Linked DNA regions of Homo sapiens: region 2 is linked to region 1. Evidence: promoter capture Hi-C in 16 types of primary human blood cells and fetal thymus (Javierre and others, 2016). All regions are on one chromosome and are shown on one strand. Each heading gives the region's core, a stretch centred on a gene start or on the middle of the fragment in contact. The rest is flanking DNA. Distances are from core to core; before and after follow the strand shown.

Region 1 (5,477 bases), core at 1,951-4,450:
TGGCTTACTATGTATTTATCCTGCTTGGGATTTATTAATTCCTTGGCCCTATGGGTTAATAATTTTTATCACTTTTGGAGAATTTTTGACCATTATTTAAAAATATGTTGTTTCCTCCCCCATTCTATTTATTTTTTTTTATTATACTTTACGTTTTAGGGTACGTGTGCACAACGGGCAGGTTTGTTACATATGTATACATGTGCCATGTTGGTGTGCTGCACCCATTAACTCGTCATTTAACATTAGGTATATCTCCTAATGCTATCCCTCCCCCTACCCCCACCCCACAACAGGCCCTGGTGTGTGATGTTCCCCTTCCTGTGTCCATGTGTTCTCATTGTTCAATTCCCACTCATGAGTGAGACATGCAGTGTTTGGTTTTTTGTCCTTGCGATAGTTTGCTGAGAATGATGGTTTCCAGCTTCATCCATGTCCCTACAAAGGACATGAACTCATCCTTTTTTGTGGTTGCATAGTATTCCATGGTGTATATGTGCCACATTTTCTTAATCCAGTCTATCATTGTTGGGCATCTGGCTTCGTTCCAAGTCTTTGCTATTGTGAATAGTGCCACAATAAACATATGTGTGCATGTGTCTTTATAGCAGTATGATTTATAATCCTTTGGGTATATACCCAGTAATGGGATGGCTGGGTCAAATGGTATTTCTAGTTCTAGATCCCTGAGGAATCACCACACCTACTTCCACAATGGTTGAACTAGTTTACATTCCCACCAACAGTGTAAAAGTGTTCCTATTTCTCCACATCCTCTCCAGCACCTGTTGTTTCCTGACTTTTTAATGATCGCCATTCTAACTGGTGTGAGATGGTATCTCATTGTGGTTTTGATTTGCATTTCTCTGATGGCCAGTGATGATGAGCATTTTTTCATGTGTCTTTTGGCTGCATAAATCTCTTCTTTTGAGAAGTGTCTGTTCATATCCTTTGCCCACTTTTTGATGGGGTTGTTTGTTTTTTCCTTGTAAATTTGTTTGAGTTCATTGTAGTTTCTGGATATTAGCCCTTTGTCAGATGAGTAGATTGGAAACATTTTCTACCATTCTGTAGGTTTCCTGTTCACTCTGATGGTAGTTTCTTTTGCTGTGCAGAAGCTCTTTAGTTTAATTAGATCCCATTTGTCAATTTTGGCTTTTGTTGCCATTGCTTTTGGTGTTTTAGACATGAAGTCCTTGCCCATGCCTATGTCCTGAATGGTATTGCTTAGGTTTTCTTCTAGGGTTTTTATGGTTGTAGGTCTAACACGTAAGTCTTTAATCCATCTTGAATTAATTTCTGTATAAGGTGTAAGGAAGGGATCCAGTTTCAGCTTTCTACATATGGCTAGCCAGTTTTCCCAGCACCATTTATTAAATAGAGAATCCTTTCCCCATTTCTTGTTTTTGTCAGGTTTGTCAAAGATCAGATAGTTGTAGATATGCAGCATTATTTCTGAGGGTTCTGTTCTGTTCCATTGTTCTATATCTCTGTTTTGGTACCAGTACCATGCTGTTTTGGTTGCTGTAGCCTTGTAGTATAGTTTGAAGTCAGGTAGCGTGATGCCTCCAGCTTTGTTCTTTTGGCTTAGGATTGACTTGGCAATGAGGGCTCTTTTTTGGTTCCATATGAACTTTAAAGTAGTTTTCTCCAATTCTGTGAAGAAAGTCATTGGTAGCTTGATGGGGATGGCGTTGAATCTATAAATTACCTTGGGCAGTATGGCCATTTTCACGATATTGATTCTTCCTACCCATGAGCATGGAATGTTCTTCCATTTGTTTGTATCCTCTTTTATTTCCTTGGGCAGTGGTTTGTAGTTCTCTTCCTGAAACTCTAAATACATGGGTGCTAGAATGTTTGATATTATTCCACTGGTCACTGATCATCTGTTCATTTTTTTAATATTTTTCCCTTTCTTCAGTTCAGTTTGAACAATTTCTTCAAGTTCACCGATCTGTTCTTCTGCAACTTATAATCTGCTAAAACCATCCAATAATTCTTTGATGTTATATGTAATTTTGACCATATTTATTTTTCAAATATTGGTTTTTTATTGTTAGATTTTGCATTTGGTTAGTTTTGAGCATGGGAAACTGGGAAATTAAACCCAGGAAATGTGTATTGCAACAAAGCCAATAATTTCAAATTAAATATTGACTATGTCTATTCTTGTCTATACCAACTACACCACTCCAAGTCACAGTTCAAAGCCACCTCATTGGCTGTTCTCTTCTCTTCACCCTTCTCATCTTTATTTTACCTCATCCCTTCAGCTTTTCCTCAGGAAACTGCAAATTCTTTTATGCTATAATTTGGGGCAATATACATCCTTTAGTCCTCTTTTCTTATACCCACTCTGGATCTACCTTCAGAAAGCCCTATTCACTGAGGTACGTAGGAGGAAAAAAAAATGGCCTTTAGTTTTAATAAGAGCCACCTAACTTAAAAGGCACCTGTGACTTTAAAAATTCCCAATGTCCATTAAAATCTCAGGTTTGCCTCTATTTTTCTTTCTATCTATCTATCTATCTATCTATCTATCTATCTATCTACCTATTCATCCATTTCCTAATTATAACCACATGCCACATACTATCTCAGCTACTTCCCCTTTGTTATCTTAATTAATTTGTAAATCCTGCAGAAAAGATATTTCTCTTATTATCTTCATTTAAAACATCAGAAAGCCAATGGCCAAAAATATTGAATACTTTGCCAGGGTCTCCAAGGCCTCTTTTCTCGACTTCTATGATGCACACACATGCCCATGTGCACATGGACAAACCCCATAATGCAGGCATGTGGATTTTTAACCAAGCTATATGGACCCAAAGGTCTAGATGGAAAATTAGTATCTAGAATAGAAGGAAAAATGAGTTGTTTGTGCAGAATTCATAAGTGTGACTACAAGACTGTGAAGAGAGCCATCTTCATAGGAAATAGGCCACGGAGGACTCCAGGAACCATGATGTCCATTTTCACCCACCACAAGCCCCCATTTCCACCAAGCTCTTTCCTAGCTGACAGCAGCTCCCCTGAACACCAATGAAGGACGGTATATGCAGAACTGCCAGTCACCACTCGTCACAAGACCTATGTGGGTGTCGGGAGGCAGGTCCTCTCATGCCCAGGCTCTGTCTCACCGCTGGAGGCAGCACCCAAGGACAGAATAAAAGGGCTCAGGGCCAGAGCATCCCATCCACTCACCTCCTGCGGTGCTGAAGAACCCTGTGCTGCCTGTGATCCTGGTAAGTGTGCCCTGGAAAAAGGAGCAGGGGCTTCCACAGAGGGATGCCCAGGCCAGGGAAGGAGGGGATGGATACTCAGACCAGGGCAGGAGTAGAGTCTAGGCAGGGCCTCAGGGGCCTGGAATTGTGATTGGCAAGGAATGGGGTGGGGGCAGAAAATTGGAAAGAGGAGGTAGAGGGGTGGGGTGGAGTGAGAGAGATTAAGAAGAACTGGTAAGATCTGAAGGGCTGTATGACACAGATTTAGAGGAACCAAATTGTTTTCAGTTGCTCAGTGTGTTTCTCTGGTTTTAGAGAATAAACACATTGGCCACTGGATGTTGCTAGAGTGGGCTGCATAGTGGGAATATAATTTTGGAAATACAGACATACTCACTTTTAGAAAAGATATGCTGAGAACACTGCTACTTAGAGGAAGAAAGGATCAAAGACACCTGTGGATCTTGTTAGATGCCAACAAGAAGATCTGTAGTGGAAAACTGAGTGCACACTGGAGTTTAAAAGCCATGTGACAGTGCCTGGGGACAGGCCTGGGGAGGCAGGATGTGCTAAAGGGCAGAGCCCAGGATGGGAACCAGGGGACCCCGGAACAAATGTGACTGTTAATGAATAACTTTGGGCCAGTGAAGTTACCTCTTTTGGCTTCAGTTTCTTTATTTATATATTGAGTTGGTTGGAACAAATTGACTCCAACATCCTTTGCGGTTATAGTTTTCTCTATTTCTGCAAACTGAAATATATCAGTTCTTCCAATAGAAATTTATTTTGATTTTTCCTTAAAGAGATTTTCATCTCTAAACTGGTCTCAACATTGAACATTTTCAGAATTCTTGGTGATGTGATAGAATGAATGCTGGCCCGGAGCCAATTTATTTCCTGGACTTCTCTCCCACACTTAGGAGCTTTTAATGAGCAGAAACTTTATTTACATATTTGGAGATTATATATTGCATGACAACATCTCAAATAAGGTTTGAAATGAGAATCCATGAATGAAAGCACTTGGTAAACATTGAGAGTGATAAAAACATTAGAGGTGATTTTCCTATGTTTGATATAAGGCTTTCAAAATGAAGGATCTAGAAATAATGCAGAAAGGACAAGAATAGGCAGGGGTGTCCTCTGCCTCCATCTAACTTGCTGTCTGACCCTCCTTCAGCTCCTGAACACCCGCCACCGAGATGTCTTGCCAGCAGAGCCAGCAGCAGTGCCAGCCCCCTCCCAAGTGCACTCCCAAGTGCCCTCCCAAGTGCCCCACACCGAAGTGCCCCCCAAAGTGTCCCCCTAAGTGCCCTCCTGTCTCTTCCTGCTGCAGCGTCAGCTCCGGAGGCTGCTGTGGCTCCAGCTCTGGGGGCTGCTGCAGCTCTGGGGGTGGTGGCTGCTGCAGCTCTGGGGGAGGCGGCTGTTGCCTGAGCCACCACAGACGGCGTAGGTCCCACCGCCACAGACCCCAGAGCTCTGACTGCTGCAGCCAGCCCTCAGCGGGCTCCAGCTGCTGCGGAGGGGGCAGTGGCCAGCACTCTGGAGGCTGCTGCTGAAGTGGACCCTGTGCCTAAAAGAGCAGATTTAGAGGCATGAAAGGGGCAACTTCATCTTCCTTGGGACTGACTGTGTTGCTGGGACATTTTAGTAAAGATTTCAAACTCTGTCCTGGAAGATTCCTCCGACCTAGAATCCAGAAATCTGCCCTCTCACAAGAATTCCTCTTCTGACCTCTGATTCCATCTGTGCGCCTGGCCTGGGAATACCAAATAGAAGTCCTTGCCTCATTCCCCTGATTTCCTTGGCAATCTCCATTGTGCATGAAACAATAAAACAAATAATCTGCTCATCACCTTTTTCTAGACTGCATTACTCTTGCTTGTAAATGTGAACAGAGGGATAAGCATGTCTTATCTCAGCTCCATCACCCGGTTATCTGGGCCTTGAAGCAGCATGGCTTGCTTAACTCCTTCAACTCCTGGTCCTCACCAGAGCTGACCCTCGCCCCTCAGTGCCTCAGCCAGGGTCAAGTCAGGAAAGAGAATTATGAGATGTACTTTAATAGACAGAAGTTTACATAAAAATTTGCTTACTTGGCATCAGAGAACTGACAAGACCAATAGAGGACAAAAAGAGTTCATGGAGGCGGTAACTGTCATTGCCACCATGCTACCAATGGCAGGTAAAGGGAGTGTCTTGAAACTATCAAAACTTAGAAACTTGGAGCAGTGGCCCACGAATTGA
Region 2 (5,477 bases), core at 1,707-4,206, 45 kb after region 1:
AAGAGCTCTAAAAAGCTTAGATTGGCCGGGCGTGGTGGCTCATGCCTGTAAGCCTAGCACTTTGGGAGGCCGAGGTGGGCAGATCACAATGTCAGGAGATCAAGACCATCCTGGCTAACACAATGAAACCCCGTCTCTACTAAAAATGCAAAAACTTAGCCAGGCATGGTGGCACACACCTGTAATCCCAGTTACTCAGGAGGCTGAGGCAGGAGAATTGCTTGAACCCGGAAGGCAGAGGTTGTAGTGAGCCGAGATTGCGACACTGCACTCCAGCCTGGGTGACAGAGAGAGACTCTGTCAAAAAAAAAAAAAAAAAAAAAAATCTCTAACATTTAAGTCTTTAATCCACCTTGAATTAATTTTTGTATAAGGTGTAAGCAAGGGATCCAGTTTCAGCTTTCCGCATATGGCTAGCCAGTTTTCCCAGCACCATTTATTAAATAGGGAATCCTTTCCCCATTTCTTATTTTGTCAGGATTGTCAAAGATCAGATAGTTGTAGATATGAGAAGGTAGCCATCTGTAAGCCAGAAAAGGAGCTCTCATCAGAAAACAAATCGACTGGCACCTTGACCTTGGTGGCTTCCCAACCTCCAGAACTACTAGAAATAAATTTCTATTATTTAAGCCACCTAATTTATAGTATTTTGTTATGACAGCTCGAGCAGACTAATACACTGAATTATTACAAGCCTAGCCAGGGGGTGACTCCATTTACAGATGTACTAGATGTGGTATTTCCTTGAGCAAATTAGCATATCCCCTATTATGCAGCTATTGATCTGGATTTTTTTTCTTCTTACCTATTAGTAATGACTACCAGAATCAGGTTGTTTTCAGCTGGCAAGGGCAGCAATACAACTTCACTGTCTTACCTGCCACCATGGCCACTTTGTTCATGAGCTCATTGGGAAATGACAGGAGAGGCTGGGCAAAGAGTCTGACTGGTATCCACAGAATAGGTTATCCTATCCACTTATTTATTAAAGTCTCTGCTAAGGTTATTGTTTAGTAAACATTCATATGGAACACAAATATCTTACATTTTTTGCTCATTTAAAGAGCTCTCTGCACATACCCCTTCCCCTATTCTCCTTGAGTAGCTATTGTTCTCCTCACCCTGTCCTCTGCAGGTGGTGGCCTTGGAACTTCAGGGGCCAGTGGGACACACTGGCTTGAATTGGGGTCAATGAGGGCAGGAGTGGGAAGGGACTTCCAACGCTGTTTGTCCTATGTCAATTGGCCTGAAGCAGCATTGCTTGTGACCAAGTCTGAAATGTCTTTTGTAAACACAGCTTCTTTGCCTCTGGTCCCCTTCAAGGCCCTGACTGGTCTCTCCATGCTCCTCTCCCTCTGTGAGCGCCACCTTCTCCTCCTCACCTAGCTCCACCCAACATCCTTCCTCCCTCACACATGTATGCACATACACACACATCACATGCAAATACACACACTTCCACACAAGTACAGGTGCACACGCACGCATGCACACATGGATGCATGCATATGGAAGAAAAAAGAAAAGAAAAATAGATTAATAAAATAGAAAGCAAAAAACAGAAATATATTTTGAAAATACAGTTTTCCCACTAACTACTTCTGAAATCAGTTTAGTTCGAGGCATATCTTTGTGTAAAAATTGCACTTGTATTAACCTTCCATTAAATGTCTCTTTCTTCCTCTTCCATCTCCATTAAATTCTCTGCACTTTTTTCCAGAACACATTCCCTATACCACATGTCTGAAATTGTCACTCTACTTCCTCAAAACAGAGGCTTTCTATAGAAAAATGCATGTGCTTCTTAAGTATTACATTTGAGACTCAGCAGGAATTGTTTCCAACTTCTTTTCTAAGGTTTACCATTCATACTTCCCATGACACCCCATGTTCTTGCCGCACTGAGCAACTCATAACTTACACTTGTATATATTCATCCTTTTTTTTCTGAGAAGCTGTAAGTAGAATTTACTATTCATAGCTCTGTATCTAGAATACTATAAGTCTTCAATAAAGAGTAGCTTCTCTTGATATTTTATAAGTGTTGCCACTACTACTACTGCTACCCTTAGTATCACTACTAACTACTGTAATCATTACTTACTATTACTATTAGCAGCATTACTTGCTATTTCCTCTATCTGAAGTTCCTCCAAATCTCTCCCCACCATCTGGACATTGTGTAATTCTGTCCCTCTTTTAAGGTTCACCTCAAATGTCATCCTTCTATGAAATCTTATCCGATTGTGTGTTTTCTTAAGCTGGTGGATGTTAAAAAATCTGTCTACAACCCTCACATTGAGCAAGCTTAGCTTGGAGGATGTAATAAAATTATAGCTTTTTAAAAATTTAAAAATTTTAAAAGTAAAATTGTCCTTAAAATTTTACTCAGTGGGATGGTTTTCCTTCCTAAATGACAAGTTGAAAGGCCAACTGACTTTACAGCTCTTTCAAAGTAATGCAAAATGATTTGTTACTTGAAATCACAAACGTGGGCCCAGTGCAGTGGCTCCTGCCTATAATCTCAGCACTTCGGGAGGCCCGAGAGAGAGGATCACTTGAACCTAGGAGTTTGAGACCAGGTGCGGCAACAAAGCAAGACCCCATTTCTAAAACAAAAAAATTACAAACTTGGTTTCAGTTCAGTAATGAAATATCCAGTCAGAAAAACAATATCAACGCCAAATTTGACTGGTTGGTTGATTGATTTTTTTTTTTTTTTTTTGAGACAGAGTCTCACTTTGTTGTGCAGGCTGGAGTGCAGTGGTGCAATCATGGCTCGCTGCAGCCTCAACCTCCTAGGCTCAAGTGATCCTCTCACCTCAGCCTACTGAGTAACTGGGACTACAGATGCACACCACCATGCCAGGCTGATTTTTGTATTTTTTTTTTTTTTTTAGAGACAGGATTTTGCCTGTTGTCCAGGGTGGTCTCGAACTCCTGGCCTCAAGAGGTCTGCCTGCCTCGGTCTGCCAAAGTGCTGGGATTACAGGCACAAGCCACTCTCCCCGGCCCCAAATTTGACTGAATGGCATATTTGCCCATATCCCTGCTCCAGTGGGCTGGCCCACCATACCAGAGAAAGGGAGCCTGGTCCTTCTACTCATTCCCCACCTAATGTCTGTCCTTCTCCAGCTTTCTAAATGTATTTTCTGAATGGAGAACAAAGAAAAGGCTCAGTCTGACATGTAGGCGCAATATCCTTCTGATACTGGAGCAACCAGGAAGCAGAATCCAATTTCTGACTCCTCCACTCTTGGGCATTTTAGTGTCTCCCCTCTATCTGTGATGTGAGTGATGCCTCTCCAGGGTGAATTTCTTGAAGTTCAGCCTTGGTTCCAGAATCTTCTCTTAGACAGTGGATAAATGGCTAAGAACAGTTGGTCTTGACAATGTGATCAACATCTGGTCATAGAAAGCACTCATGCATCATTTGACCCATGCTTGCAGAGGAACTAGAAACTCATCTTTGCTTAGATGACAAAACTGGTTTCATTTCCTCCATGTTTCCTGAGGGAAGAGTCGGGTCCTCATTCTGTATATCCCCCATATCAGGGACTCACCTGCAGGCTCCTCCCAGGGAAAGGACAAAGAGGGCAGGATCCTAAGCTTCTAGTCCTAGGAAATTCTCTTTCTTCCTTTTGTTTGCCGGAAATCTAGAGGATTTTTCTTATCCACCACAAGTCCCATTCTGATAAAATACTTATCTGTAACTTTCACATAATTAAACCCCAAACCTTGAGACTGGTGCAAATTTAAAAAAAAAAAAAAGAATGTAATAGTATATATATATATATATATATATACACATATATACACACACACATATATGTATGTATATATACACATATACGTATCTATGTATACACATATGTATGTATACATATATATACTATTAAATCTCTCTCTATATATATGTATATATACACAAAGAATTAAAATATGATGATGCAGGTGATGGTTATCAATGGGGAAAAGATGGCTATTCAATACCTGGAGTTAGGGAATTTTGATAACTGAAAAAAAAACGTAAACCCTCATTTAGTATTAGATGCCAAGACAAAATCCATGGGATTAAATATTTTGAGGAAATCGAATTATAAAGAAAGAAGTACTTGTAGCTAAATGTTTATCTTCTCCCAGGATTGAGAAAAACATTCTCAATATAAAAACAATTAAAGAAATTATAAAGAAAAATAAGCACAAATACATGCATATTAAATTAAATATTTTGCTAGAGAAGAGGAAAACAAAATTAAGTAAAATAATTTTTTGAAATATTTTAATATATATGAAATATAATAGAGTAATACCTTACTATATAAGTATGTGTTAAATTTTACATATGTATAAATTTCTTAAATAAAATATTTTACACAGATACAAACTTAAAAGGATTTCCTGGTAAACACTGCATGCATGTATTTTCCACTCATATTGAGAAATAAATAATCATAAATATGATTGAAACCATCCCCTTATATATCCCTTCTACCTAGAGATATTCATTATTCTGTATTTTGTGTTTTTCCTTCCTGTGCAATGCATATACTTTCCTGTGCTTATCTATCCTTAACTTATAATTTATTTATAAGTTAAAAATGTAACAATTCCTCTGTACTTAACTATACTTTATTTGTACTTAGCTATATTTTATTTATAACTTATTTCTATATTAGTTATAATTTGTATTTTTAATTTTCTAAAAGTGATCTACTCCATGACTTTGAGACATTTATCTATGTTGATACAGATGACTCAATTTCATTTTCATTTATTCTCACTATTGTATAGCATTCCAGTGTAAGAATATTCATACTTTACTTATGCATTCATCTGAAATTGGGTACTTACCTTGTTTTCACTTTGTACTTTATAAAAAGTGCTACTTTTTAACATTCTTACACATACTTTGGAACCTTTGCATCCAAGGCATACACTTATGAGAAGAATCAGCATGTTATTCAGTATATCTGCCTTCATCCTGACTAAATATTGCCAAATTACTCTTCAAAAGTTGTACTAATGTACATTCCCATCAGAGTACATGAAAATTTCTGTTATTCAACATCAATGAGAAGAATAAATAGTGAGAATTTTTCACTCTTACCAAGGTGATAGATGTGAAATTATATACCATCATGGTTTTTTCTTGCTTTTCTCTGATTCCTAGCAAGGTTGAAAAGCTTTTTCAAAAACATATTGGTTATTGGTTATTCAGGTTTTCACTTCTGGAAATCAATTTTCATGTGTTTTTCTCATTTTTCCTTTGGGTCATTGCTTTCTTCTCACTGATTTGTAGGGTTATTTATTTAGATACTAATTTGTTGTCAATTATATGTGTTGCAAATATCTTTTCATAATCTGTATTTTCATCTTTTGTGATGTTTTCTGGTTAAAGAAAATTTAATATAACCAAACTCAAGGGTTTTTGTTTGTTTGTAATGTGTTTGTCTCTGATGTGAACACATGTATAT

The links. Contacts are between HindIII fragments. The CHiCAGO score rates a contact against its expected background, and 5 or more counts as called.
Region 2: a contact is called between a fragment that was not itself captured here and the fragment with the promoter of LCE1F in region 1, in 9 of 17 cell types (naive CD4 T cells, M2 macrophages, total CD4 T cells and 6 more). The highest score is 7.5, in naive CD4 T cells.

Annotation. Positions count from the first base shown.
Region 1 is chr1:152,771,940-152,777,416 of GRCh38, forward strand. LCE1F (late cornified envelope 1F) reads left to right here and starts at 3,201. Exons shown (of 2, transcript NM_178354.3): 1 at 3,201-3,251; 2 at 4,411-5,085. The coding sequence starts at 4,433. The coding sequence ends at 4,789. The HindIII fragment of the contact is 9,364 bases long and covers 1-5,477 here.
Region 2 is chr1:152,817,558-152,823,034 of GRCh38, forward strand. No RefSeq gene overlaps it. Among named protein-coding and RNA genes, the nearest start is that of LCE1A, 7.2 kb to the right of the region's middle. The HindIII fragment of the contact is 1,302 bases long and covers 2,306-3,607 here.